4 separate regions of the Homo sapiens genome follow, and all the other regions are linked to region 1. The links are contacts of gene promoters, found by promoter capture Hi-C in blood cells and fetal thymus (Javierre and others, 2016). All regions are on one chromosome and are shown on one strand. Each heading gives the region's core, a stretch centred on a gene start or on the middle of the fragment in contact. The rest is flanking DNA. Distances are from core to core; before and after follow the strand shown. Region 1 holds the start of RPL7L1 (ribosomal protein L7 like 1). Region 2 overlaps PRPH2 (peripherin 2). Region 3 overlaps UBR2 (ubiquitin protein ligase E3 component n-recognin 2). Region 4 overlaps UBR2 (ubiquitin protein ligase E3 component n-recognin 2).

Evidence for each region. The method cuts DNA at HindIII sites, captures the fragments that hold promoters and counts their contacts. A CHiCAGO score of 5 or more calls a contact.
Region 2: a contact is called between a fragment that was not itself captured here and the fragment with the promoter of RPL7L1 in region 1, in 4 of 17 cell types (naive CD4 T cells, total CD8 T cells, naive CD8 T cells and 1 more). The highest score is 6.2, in naive CD4 T cells.
Region 3: a contact is called between a fragment that was not itself captured here and the fragment with the promoter of RPL7L1 in region 1, in 16 of 17 cell types (naive CD4 T cells, megakaryocytes, total CD8 T cells and 13 more). The highest score is 30.2, in naive CD4 T cells.
Region 4: a fragment that was not itself captured here is called in contact with the fragment with the promoter of RPL7L1 in region 1 in 11 of 17 cell types (M2 macrophages, M1 macrophages, total CD8 T cells and 8 more); the score reaches 10.1 in M2 macrophages.

What each region holds. Positions count from the first base shown.
Region 1 is chr6:42,877,987-42,881,072 of GRCh38, forward strand. It overlaps RPL7L1 (ribosomal protein L7 like 1), which reads left to right and starts at 1,630. Exons shown (of 6, transcript NM_001366481.3): 1 at 1,630-1,965; 2 at 2,875-2,980. The coding sequence starts at 1,925. RefSeq lists enhancers at 642-1,599, 1,342-1,811, 1,600-2,556, 1,832-1,891. The HindIII fragment of the contact is 10,267 bases long and covers 1-3,086 here.
Region 2 is chr6:42,709,934-42,712,991 of GRCh38, forward strand. The region is part of intron 1 of PRPH2 (peripherin 2); the gene reads right to left. Among named protein-coding and RNA genes, the nearest start is that of PRPH2, 11 kb to the right of the region's middle. RefSeq lists an enhancer at 262-847. The HindIII fragment of the contact is 2,489 bases long and covers 447-2,935 here.
Region 3 is chr6:42,653,370-42,656,424 of GRCh38, forward strand. It overlaps UBR2 (ubiquitin protein ligase E3 component n-recognin 2), which reads left to right. Exons shown (of 47, transcript NM_001363705.2): 26 at 2,252-2,354. Among named protein-coding and RNA genes, the nearest start is that of PRPH2, 68 kb to the right of the region's middle. The HindIII fragment of the contact is 2,254 bases long and covers 600-2,853 here.
Region 4 is chr6:42,635,682-42,638,713 of GRCh38, forward strand. It overlaps UBR2 (ubiquitin protein ligase E3 component n-recognin 2), which reads left to right. Exons shown (of 47, transcript NM_001363705.2): 15 at 1,330-1,513. Among named protein-coding and RNA genes, the nearest start is that of UBR2, 73 kb to the left of the region's middle. The HindIII fragment of the contact is 330 bases long and covers 1,347-1,676 here.

The sequences.
Region 1 (3,086 bases), core at 380-2,879:
GGTGCTAGATCCTTAGGATCAGTGATGAGTAAGCAGTCATGGTTCCTGCCCCCCCTAGTATCATGTGGAAGAAATATTAAAAATATAATAATGTCCTGAGGGAAATCAGACACTACTCTAGAGTCTTACTAGTCAGCCCATAGACCAGTAGCACCAGCGTCACTCTGAAGCCTGTTAAAAATGCAGAATATTGGCCAGGTGCGGTGGCTCACGCCTGTAATCCCAGCACTTTGGGAGGCCGAGGCGGGCGGATCACGAGGTCAGGAGATCGAGACCATCCTGGCTAACAAGGTGAAATCTCTACTAAAAATTCAAAAAATTAGCCAGGCGTGGTGGCGGGCGCCTGTAGTCCCAGCTACTCGGGAGGCTGAGGCAGGAGAATGGCGTGAACCCGGGAGGCGGAGCTTGCAGTGAGCCAAGATCGCGCCACTGCACTCCAGCCTGGGCGACAGAGCGAGACGCCATCTCAAAAAAAAAAAAAAAAAAAAAGCAGAATATCAGCTCCCCACCCGGCCTCCTGAATAAAAATCTGTATTTTAGTAAAATCTTCAGGTGACTCCTATTCACTATTAATGCTTGAGAAGCGCTGCTCTGGAGGTTTCCAGAGATGATAAGACTTGTGTTGTTTTTCAGGATTTTTAATTTTAAAAAAAATTTATTTCTTGTTTTTTTTGAGACTGTCTCGCTCTGTCGCCCAGGCTGGAGTGCAAGTGGCACAAACTCGGCTCACGCAGCCTCCGCCTTCTGGGACTTCAGGCGCGAGCCACCACGCCCAGCTAATTTTTTGTATTTTTAGTAGAGACGGGGTTTCACCATCTTAGCCATGCTGGTCTCCAACTCCTGACCTCAAGTGATCCACCTGCCTTGGCCTCCCAAAGTGCTGGGATTACAGGTGAAAGCCACCGGCCCGACCTACTGTTTTTCAGGATTCTATATAGACTGGGAGGGAAGAACGCAAATTCCGGGCGATGAGAGCTGCATAAGGGTTTTATTTTTATTCTTTTTTTTTCTTTTCTTTTCTTTTTGTTTTTTTGAGACGGAGTCTTGCTCTGTCGCCCAGGCTGGTGGGCAGTGGCGCGATCTCGGCTCACTGTAACCTCCGCCCAAGACGGGGTTTCGCCGTGTTGGCCAGGCTGATCTCGAACTCCTGACCTCAGGTGATCCTCCCGTCTCGGCCTCCCTCCCAAAGTGCTGGGATTACAGGCGTGAGCCACCGCGCCCGGCCTGTGTAACGGTTTTAGACGGGAAGGAAGCATGTTGTAGTTTTCGGTCCAGCAGTAATAGTAACAAACATAGTGCTGACAGACACTGCTAAACGCTTTATCTAATCTCCTGTAATCCTCGTAACGCCATTAGGTAGACCTATTATTACTGTACACCCATTTTATGGGTAATGAAGCCGCAGTATAGAGGGGTTAAATAACGTGTTCAAGGACGCATCGACGGGGCCAAGCAGACGGAATTGCAGCTACCTGCTTTACCACTCTAAGTCCTCAACAAACACTTCCACCTACACGTGAGAGCCAAAGCCATAGCCTCCAAGTTTTTCCACAGAGCGAAAATGTTTCGCGGAGTTTGCCTGTCTTCCTCCCCAGAGACGCAGCACAGCCGCGCCGGAAGTGCGGCGCCGTAGCTAGGAGCGGACGCCATAGGTGCATTGTGGGAAGCACTTTGCTGTCCACAGCCAGGCCGCTTGTGATGAAACTGTAACTTACAAGAAAAGGGCTGGGTTTTGAAAATAACACAGGCTCTAAAAACCCTAAGAAGCGGTGCAACTTTTGGCAGGAATCGGGGTTAGCGGGACCTCAAGGGCTCACTGCGGCTAAGTGAACGCTGACTGGTCCTCCAGCGTGAGCTAGAACAGACGTCTCTATGGTCAAGTAAACAGAGCGTGTGCTGTCTTCCCCATGTGGTGGGGTTGCGCATGATCAGTAGCTGCACCACTAGAAAGATGGCGGAGCAAGAGTGAGTGTTTGGGGCTTTGAATATCTGGAGTGGGGTCTTGAGTATCCGGTGCCATCCACGGTGTTTATGCCTTGGTGGCGGATTCCTGTGGGCTCTAGGAATAGAAAAGGCCACAGTTTACAAAGGGTGGGGGTGAGGAGGAGTAGCGCTGTGGCGGAGGAGGGAGGGGACCGCGGTCAAGTTCGGGTTATCTGGAGAGGCGAGGATTGACTTCAGGCAGCGGGCTGGAGTGCCACAGTTGAATTCACCCAGCCCGACAAGTGTTAACTCTGCAGATAGGCCTGCCCCCGCCCCAACCCCATAGATTCGTCGCTGCTAGTGCCTATGAAGAACTGTGGCCGTGAAAACCCTGTTAACTTATACGAACCCAGAGGCTAAAGGATTCATTATTTTCCGAGGCTTTGGGGATGAGTGACTATTAGGGATGGATTTATGAGGCCTGGAGTCAGAAACCGCAGGTTTCAGGGGAATCTTTCTTCAGATACTTGAAAACAGTAATGTTCCCTAAAGCCCAGGATATTGAATTGGTTTGGAAATCCATTGAATGTTCGTTTTCTTTTTTGTTGTTGTTTTTGTTTTGAGACGGAGTCTTGCTCTGTCCCCCAGGCTGGAGCGCAGTGTCGGGATCTCGGCTCGGTGCAACCTCCGCCTCCCGGGTTCAAGCGATTCTCCTGCCTCAGTCTCCCGAGTAGCTGGGATTACAGGCGTGCGCCACCACGCCCAGCTGATTTTTTATTTTTAGTAGAAACGGGGGTTTCACCATGTTGGTCAGGCTGGTCTCGAACTCCTGACCTCAGGTAATCCACCCACCTCGGCCTCCCAGAGTGCTGGGATTACAGGCTTGAGCCACCGAGCCCGGCCAAGTGTTCTTTTCTAAATGTTATCTCTGATCTCAATTTTCTGCATCAGGCAAAGAAAAATCCCTTTGGTTCCAGAAAATCTCCTGAAAAAGAGGAAGGCTTATCAAGCCCTCAAAGCCACCCAGGCAAAGCAGGCACTTTTGGCAAAGAAGGAGGTAATGGTGGGGAACCAAGAGAAAGTAATTAGAATTTTTATTTGGTGAGTTTTATCCCGCATGTGTTGGACTACATTTGGTATTGACGAGCTCCCCCCAACGGTTT
Region 2 (3,058 bases), core at 441-2,940, 170 kb before region 1:
GCCTCATGCACACTAAGGTGTCTGTGATGTGAGGGTCAGGCCTAAAACTGTGTGGGCTGAGGCCAGCAGAGGCTCTGAGCCACCCTCAGTCTGCAGGCTGGGCTTGCGGACATTCCCCGTCTCCCCACCTCGCCTCCCTGAGCCCCCAGACAAGTCACCCTAATGGTCTCCACCAGGCTGTCTCCCCTCACACTGGGGCTCCCTGAGTCAGGGCTGTGTCTCCCCCTCAGACTGGGGCTCCCTGAAGACGGGGCTGTGTCTCCCCATCAGACTGGGGTTCCCTGAGGACGGGGCTGTGTCTCCCCTCAGACTGGGGCCCCCTGAAGATGGGGCTGTCTCCCCTCAAACTGGGGCTTCCTAAAGACAGGGCTGCGTCTCCCTCATACTGGGAACTTCCCAGTGTATTCCCAGGGGCAACATCCAGGTCAGCCTGGGGGAAAAGGCCAAGCTTGGTGAACGTTGGGACCTGCCTGGGTCACCAGCCTGGGAACTCCTGGGGTCTCTCACTTCTGGAGCTATCCCTCCCCCACTCCAAACATCATCTTGTTTACTCAGTGCTTGCCCTCATTCCAACCACAGATTAAGGCTCCTCTCACCCTCTTAAGACAAAGCCAGGCAGAGGAGAGCGCCTTAGTGGTGAGCCGGCTATTTATATCACAGCGTGTTTCCCAGGCTACGAATTTCACTCTGCGCGGAAGGGGCCGGGGGCGGTGGAGGAGGAGTCACTAGGGTTTGAAAGGGTCTTGATTAAGATAAGAACTATGTTCTAGGCCACTCTCCCATAAGCAAGGCACAAAGAGCCTGGGAAAATGATCACGTCTGAGTTTTTCCAGAAAAACCAACATAATTTAGTAAGTGAATCAAATTAGTAAAGCCAGCCATAGGGCAATGAGCAGGGGTATACCTGACAGTGGGTCATGCCAAGCAGAACGCTGGCTGAGGGACACCTGTGAGACCTTGAGAACTGGCCTAACCTCTCTGAGCCTGAGTTTTCTCATCTAAGAAATGACATTTTAAACACTCGACAGGGGATGGTGGAAATTAAATGGGATCATACACGTGGAGCATTTGGTACACACTATGTGCTTAGTATGCTTTGATGATTGCTTTTTTGTGTAGTGCTGTGGTTTGAATGTGTCCCCCAAAGTTCCTGTGTTGGAAACGTGAGGCCCAGCATGACAGTGGTGAGAGATGGGACCTTTGAGAGGTGACTGGATTACAAGCGCTCTGCCCTCATGAGTAGATTAATGCCATTATCATGGGAGTGGGTTCCTGAGGAAAAGGATGAAATCGGGCCCCTCAGCAGATGCGGGCCCCTCCACCTTGGACTTCCCAGCCTCCAGAACAGTAAGAAATAAATCTCTACTCTTTATCAATTATCCAGACTCAGGTATTCTGTTATAGCAGCTCACAGTGAAGTAAGAAAATAAGTCACTGAGTGTGAGGTACTAGACGGTGAGGGGTGACATGAGGAGGAGACACAGCCCCGTCCTCAGGCAGCCCCAGTCTGAGGGGGGAATGCAGCCCTGTCCTCAGGGAGCCCCAGTCTGAGGGGAGATGCAGCCCTGTCTTCAGGGGACCCTAGTTTGAGGGAAACACAGCCCCATCCTCAGGGAGCCCCGGTCTGAGGGGGACACAGCCCCATCCTCAGGGAGCCCTGGTCTGAGGGGAGACATAGCCCAGCCCTCAGGAAGCCCCAATTTGAAGGGGAGACACAGCTCTCTTCAAAGAGTTCCCGTCTGAGAGGGGAGAAACCCCATAGAGTCAAGTTCTAATCTTCTCCTTGAGATGTCTACGAATTGTTTAAGAAGAGCAAGCAGGTACCTGTAGTCTGTGGGTTCCCTGGGAAGAATGGTGAAGAGCAAGAGCTTGGTGCCAGCTTCTCCCTCAGACTGGGGACCCCAGGCTGGGCCTTCCTGGCTGGTAGTTCCTGGTTCCAAAATGTCTGAGCTCCCGCATGTTCTACCTCTCACCCCAAGACACTGCAGCTCTGCTCATCCTGCAACCTTTAAAAGAAGTGTTGTAAACTGACTGAAGACCTCATGTCCTTCCTCATGTGCTACGGTAAGATACACAGAGCGGCACTGTAGGAAATGTTCTTGCCACAACTGAGCCTGATCCAACCATACCTCGACCCAGACTACTGGTTTATGAGGAAATACAGGGGACAGAAGAACAAGTTAGACAACACCATTTGGCTGCAATTGCCCAACTCCAAACTATGGGGGATTCTGCAGGACACGTGGCCCAGTTTCTCTCACACATATGGTATGAAAAAGGGGACAGTTTTCTAGTAAAACAGACAGGAAACCAAACAACCAAATGCAAAGCATGGACTTGGTTTGGATCCTGAATTGACCAACTGTAAAAAGCATTCCGAGACTATCAGGGAAAACTGAACATAGACTGGGTATTGATTGATATTGCCATTAAATCTGTTGACTATGACTGGTCTTGTGCTTATGTTCAGCAGAAACAAAAGGGCAAAAAACAACTAAAGCCTCTTTATCTGTTGGAGATGCCTATTAAAGTATTTACAGGTAAAAGGAAAGTATGTCCAGGATTTGCTTTAGGATATTCAGAAGGGGAAAATGTGTTTGGGGGAGGGTAGTATAGATGAAACAGGCAAAATATTGATATTTGTTCCTAGGTGATGGCTAGGTGATAGGGACGGGGTTTCACCATGTTGGCCAGGCTGGTCTTGAACTCCTGACCTCAGGTGATCCACCCGCCTCAGCTTCCCAAAGTGCTGGGATTACAGGCATGAGCCACTGTGCCCAGCCTGTTTTTTCCTTTTTTTTTTAGAGACCTTGTGCTCAAGTGATCCTCCCACCTCAGCCTCCAAGTAGCTGGAGTTACAGGTGTGTTGCCACCACACCTGGCTAGGTGATGGCTACATGAGAATTAATTATAATGAACTCTCTAATTTTGTGAAAGCTTGAGTTTTTTCTATAATAGAAGTCGGAAATGCAATAAAATAAGATAAAAGAGCATCAGTTGAGAACTACAGGCCTGGCACAGTGGCTCATGCCTGTAATCCCAGCACTTTGGGAGGCCA
Region 3 (3,055 bases), core at 477-2,976, 220 kb before region 1:
ACTATGCCCAGCCCCTTGTTTGTATTTTACTTTATAGTTTTAATGTAAGCCGTTCGTACACTATCTCATTGAATTCACACAACACCCCATGAATAGATACAACTTTTTTCTCATTGTTAGATGAGGAAGCCAAGTTTCAATGAGGTTCCATTAACTTCCCATATTAATCTACTAAGTGATATAACAATTATTCATTAAATAGAATGCCTACTTTATGCCTTATTCCATGCTAAGCCCTTTTTTTTTTTTTTTTTTTTTTTTTTTTGAGACAGTTTTGCTCTTGTCACCCAGGCTGGAGTACAATGGTGTGATCTTGGCTCACTGCAACTTCTGCCTCCCGGGTTCAAGCAATTCTCCTGCCTCAGCCTCCCAAGTAGTTGGGAGTACAGGTGCCTGTCACGAAGCCCAGCTAATTTTTTGTATTTTTAGTAGAGACAGGGTTTCACCACGTTGGCCAGGCTAGTCTCGAACTCCCAGCGTCAGGTGATCCACTCACCTTGGCCTCCCAAAGTGCTAGGATTACAAGGCGTGAGCCACCGTGCCTGGCCATGCTAAGCACTCTGCATACAGTATTTGTAATCCTCAGAACTCTAGAGGGAAGCTTTGTTTTTCCAAGGCTAAAGATGATGACTTGGGCTCAGAGGCGTTCCCTTAGGGTATATATTAATAGCTTGAAAGCAGTAAAACCAGGATTCAGATTCAAATTTTGGAGCCCTCCTCGGGAGGCTGAGTAGCTATCATTCTTTCTTTTTGTCTCACTGGCTAAGATGTGTGTATTCTTATAATGCCCTCCTATTTATCTATAAGCATATTTAAAGTGTAAAAGCATGGAGCTGTGGTGTACTAGCTCACTACTAGTACAGCTGTACTAGCTGTCGTGTACTGTCAGCATTACATGAACAAAAGATTTGTGGGAAATAATGGAGAGAAGAGGTGTGAACAATATTTACCTTACATGTACACTTGCTTTATGTCACCTAGTTCTTCCAAGTCTCTGACAACCACAGTCATCCCATGTGAAGGGAAAGATACAGAGACATCACACACATATCTCCTTCAAAATCTGGGGTGTGGGCCCGGCACAGTGGCTCACCCCTGTAATCCTAACACTTTGGGAGGCCAAGGCGGGTAGATCACTTGGGGTCGGGAGTTCAAGACCAGCCTGTACAACATGGTAAAACCCCATCTCTACTAAAAATAAAAAAATTAGCCAATCGTCATGGCACATGCTTATAATCCCAGCTACTCAGGAGGGCTCAGGAGAATCACTGGAAACTGGGAGGCAGAGGTTGCAGTGAGCCAATATTGTGCCACTGCACTCTAGCCTGGGCAACAGAGGGAGACTCCGTCTCAAAAAACAAAAAAACTTGGGCATGGGATAAGAGCAGTAAAAAAACAAATAGGTTGATACAGTCTCTAGAAGTCTGGTCAGGAATATTTTGTGAGATACACTGAAGAACTATAAAGTTTATAAATGATAAGGCATTAGAGATAAAAGTTTGTCTTTCTCAGATGATGAAGATTTAGTCCTTAGAGAAATTAGGTAGTGTCATAGACTGGATAATTACATGGGGGATACGTTTAGCTTTATAATTACTTGACCACTAATTCTTGGAAGGTTTTTTTAAGTCTGTAGTATAGGTATAGAATAAAACTTACATATTATGTGAATTGCTGGTCACAGCTGGTGTAATTTTAGCTTACCCTGAGGATTTGCAATTGAAATTTCTTCCTCATTGAAGTAGAAAATTTTGTTTTTCTTGACAATAATTGTTTGTTAGAAAATAAACCTCAGTCTTTTCATTTAATAAAAATTAGTACTTCAAGGCCGGGCATGGTGGCTCACGCCTTTAATCCCAGCACTTTGGGAGGCCAAGGTGGGCGGATCACTTGAGGTCAGGAGTTCAAGACCAGCCTGGCCAACATGGTGAAACCCCATCTCTACTAAAAGTACAAAAATTAGCCGGGTGTGGTGGCACGCGCCTGTAGTCCCAGCTACTCGGGAGGCTGAGGCAGGAGAATCACTTGAACCTGGGAGGCAGAGGTTGCAGTGAGCCTGGGTGACAGGGCAAAACTCCATCTCAAAAAAAAAAAAAAGAAAAAAAAATTAGTACTTCAAATTGTTTTTAATTGCATTTAGTATTTCATAGTTTGATTTATCTTTTTCAATAATTCTTTTTTCCTATTTCTTATTAAAATATGTACTTGATTTTTTAAATTTTTACTAAAAGTTACAAAACATTTATTCAAGGTGTTACATTTAATTGGCATGGCACTACAAGAAGAAAAACAACATTTAGAGAATGTCACGGAAGAGCATGTAGTAACATTTACCTTCACTCAGAAGATATCAAGTATGTATATATCTTTTTACTAAACTAACTCAAGATATAAATGATTTTAAGAAATCACTTAATAACCTCTTTTATTTGATCATATAGATTCTAAAAGGGTAATATTTAATCCAAACATTTGAGGCTATATGTACTCATCTGTGTAGTAAAGGTACTGTATTAAACCCTGATACATTTTTATAAAAATATCTAGGGCTAAGTTCAAAGTTACAGTCAGCTGTGGTTGACGTAAGATTCTACAGTATTGAAAATAAAAAAAAATTATAGGGGATTAGATTGTCATTTCATATAAAGAAATGTGACTTTTTAAAAGAAGGCCAGGGAGTTTTTCTAGCTTTTTATTTTAAAAATTTCATACATATAGACAAGTTGAAAGAATTGTCCAGTAAACATTCATATACCTGCTCCCTAGATTCAGTAGTTTGCTATATTTGCTTTTATATTTACATACTTTCTTGAACCATTTGTTGTAGACATAATATTTCATGTCTCAAAGAAAAGCTTCTCATTTACTAATTTTCAGAACCAGCCATTGGTCTGATAGTTACCTGCAATTGTGGCAATTTTGAATGTTTTTTGTTTAGAGTTTTTTTAAATATTATTCATGGATTTTTATTCAGTGTTTTATAGTCACTTATAATGGGTATTCCTTTTGATGCTCAAATTATGCCCATTTTGGTCAGTGGGAGTTTATTTAGTCA
Region 4 (3,032 bases), core at 262-2,761, 240 kb before region 1:
CCACCTATAAACTCAGTAAAATTTTAAAATTCTACAGCCTGAGGAAAAACTTGAAAAATAGAGAAAGAAATAATCCAGATTGTCTCTTCCCTAATGTAACTATCTTTGTTTTTTTTCCATAATCCCTTCTAGACTTTGAGGATATAAAAATGGTAGTTTCTAAATTTATTCAAAAATAAAGTTTTATTATTGGTACATTTGTCCTGTGTCTTAAAATTATTTTGGCCTTCCTTTGGCGATAAAGTCTAGATGAGAGCCTGTATACATTATGAGGTTAGGGAGGTTTCTGTAAGGTCTGAACAATCTGTAAAAGTTAATGGAACAATGAGTAAATGATATTCCTGACTGAGAAGACAGCTGCATTATAGTCTGTGATGACAGGGACTAGGGTAGTCCTAGGAGCTATAGAAAGGTCTGTGGTTGGAGCACAGAAGTAGAGAACAGAGATTTGGGCACAGGAGTGATTTTTCGGGGCCTTGGCCATGGTTGTTTTTTTTTTTGTTTTTTTTTTTTTTGAGACACAGCTTACTCTGTTGCCCAGGCCAGAGTGCAGTGGTGCAATCCCGGCTCACTGCAGCCTCAACCTCCCTGGGCTTAGGTGATCCTCCCACCTCAGCCTCCCAAGTAGCTGGGACAACAGGCACACACCACCACACCTGGCTAATTTTTCTATTTTTTGTAGAGACAGGGCTTCGCCGTGTTACCCAGGCTGGTCTTGAATTCCTGGGCTCAAGCGATCTGCTTGCCTCGGCCTCCCAAAGTCTTGGAATTACCAGCGTGAGCCACCACACTCAGCCTGCATTTTATTTGAATTGAAGTGGGAAGCCTTTAGAGATTACCATCTCTCTATTAAATTCCCTGCTTCAACTCTTGCCCCCTTTATCCATTTTCCATACAGTGACATGATTCAATTTACATGTTTTTTAAAATTGCTCTGTATGGAGAATGGATGAAGGGGGCAAGAGTCAAAGCAGGAATTTAATAGAGAGACGCTTGGCAATGCCTTGGAGTTACTAGAGATAGAGAAAAGTAGCAAGTTTTGAGAGAAACTTAGAAGATGAAGTTGCCAGCTTGGTAATAGATTGGACAATGGGGAATGGGGGAAAGGAGGGTATTGGAATAACTTCTAGATTTCTGCACTATATGAGTAAATGTATCATTCACTGAGATGAGGGACACTGGAAGAGGGACCAAATTTGGGAGGGAGGATTGAGTTTGGTTTTGCCTATATTGTTATTTGAGGTACTTACTCACTGAATTTAAGGTGCTTATTCAATGTTGTAAAAACTCAACCTTTTGAGTAACTTACAGAAAAACCCTCTTTTTTAGGAAAAAGTGTTAATCGAAGCTTACAAGAAATGTCTCGCTGTACTGATGCAGTGTCATGGTGGTTATACTGATGGTGAACAGCCAATCACACTAAGCATTTGTGGACATTCAGTGGAAACTATCAGATACTGTGTTTCCCAAGAAAAAGTTAGCATTCACCTCCCAGTTTCTCGCTTACTTGCAGGTAAAGCATTTCCCCTAAAATAAAACCCTAAAATTATCTTTTAAATTGTTGTTTGTGGTTAATATCTGTGAATACTTACTTTGTGCCAGATGTTATTCTGTGATTTCTACATCATTAACTTATCCAATCATCACATCGTCCTGTGAAGTAGGTATTATTATTAAGCTTGCTTCATAGATGGGAAGACAGAGGCATAGAGAGTGACTTGCTTAGTAAGTCACACAACAAGAAAGAATCAGTTGGCATTATGAGGAAGTTTGGCACCAGAGGCCATGTTTATAGCCGTTATACCATAGTGCTTCTTTAGACAACTACAGATACCACGTTTTATCATTTCATCGAATCCAGCTTCAAAGTCTATGTTGTTACCATTCAAATTAATCTGTCACTTAAGCAATTGCTAATCATTTGAAGCCACCCTAGGTTTTCTATTCTCCTTTTTTTCCTCTCCCTCTGAGCTGTTTCATATATTTATTGATAGCTTTTTACGCAACAGGTCAAGAACAAGGACATAATGGGGTGATAATCTTTTAATTTCAAGTAGTTGATTTACAAGCCACTTGTAATTAATTGGTAGAATGTCTGAAGCTGCCATCTTATGTGGCCAAAGACTTTGAATATGCACTTATCCATCTCTGCAGACTCATTTCAGTACAGCTTTCATATTTCTTGATTCTAGGTATTCTTTTCTTGCTCGCACACTGTTGTTTTCTTTAGTTCCGTTTTAACTCAGAGAACAGAAAGAAATTTTGAAGGTATTTTTACTCATTGTAAAATATGTAGTTTATGTTAAGTTTGTGGCTCAGTAGCTTAATGTGATGTGAGGGTATGTTTTTTGTTTTGTTTTGTTTTTTTCTGGAGGAGATTGTAGAGAGTTTGTTTCATTTCTTCCTTAAATGTTTGACAGAATTCACCAGTGAAGTCATCTCATCTGATGCTTTAGGTTTTGGAAGGTTATTAATAATTGACTCAATTTCTTTAATAGATACGGGCCTGTTTAGGTTATCTTTTTCTCCTTGTGTGAGTTTTGGTAGTCTGTGTCTTTCAGGGAATTGATCCATTTCATCTAAGTTATCAGATTTGTGGGCCTAGAGTTGTTAATATTCCTTCATTATCCTTTTAATGTACATGGGGTCAGTAGTAATGATTCCTCTTTCATTCTGAAGGCATTTTTTTTCATTGTTCTGAGACCTATCACATTATCCCACTGATAGACCCTTGCCATGGGTATATTATTGAAGTCATGGTAATTTAAGATAATTACTTACTCTGAGGCTTATAAAGTTGTTATTCCTAGACATATGAATATCAAATGGTACAATAGACCATTACCTAGAATGAAATCATGATCGTAAGAAGAAATCTCTCTTATTTCTATAACTTGTTCAGGCCCAGTTTTGTTTTTATAAGTGTTTTGAGCAACTGAACTGTCAATCCTCAACACAGGCAATTGATGGCATGGTGTTGTGGAAAAGTATTGGACAGAAGGCAAGAAAGTGAGGCATGCGTGTGGAAGTAG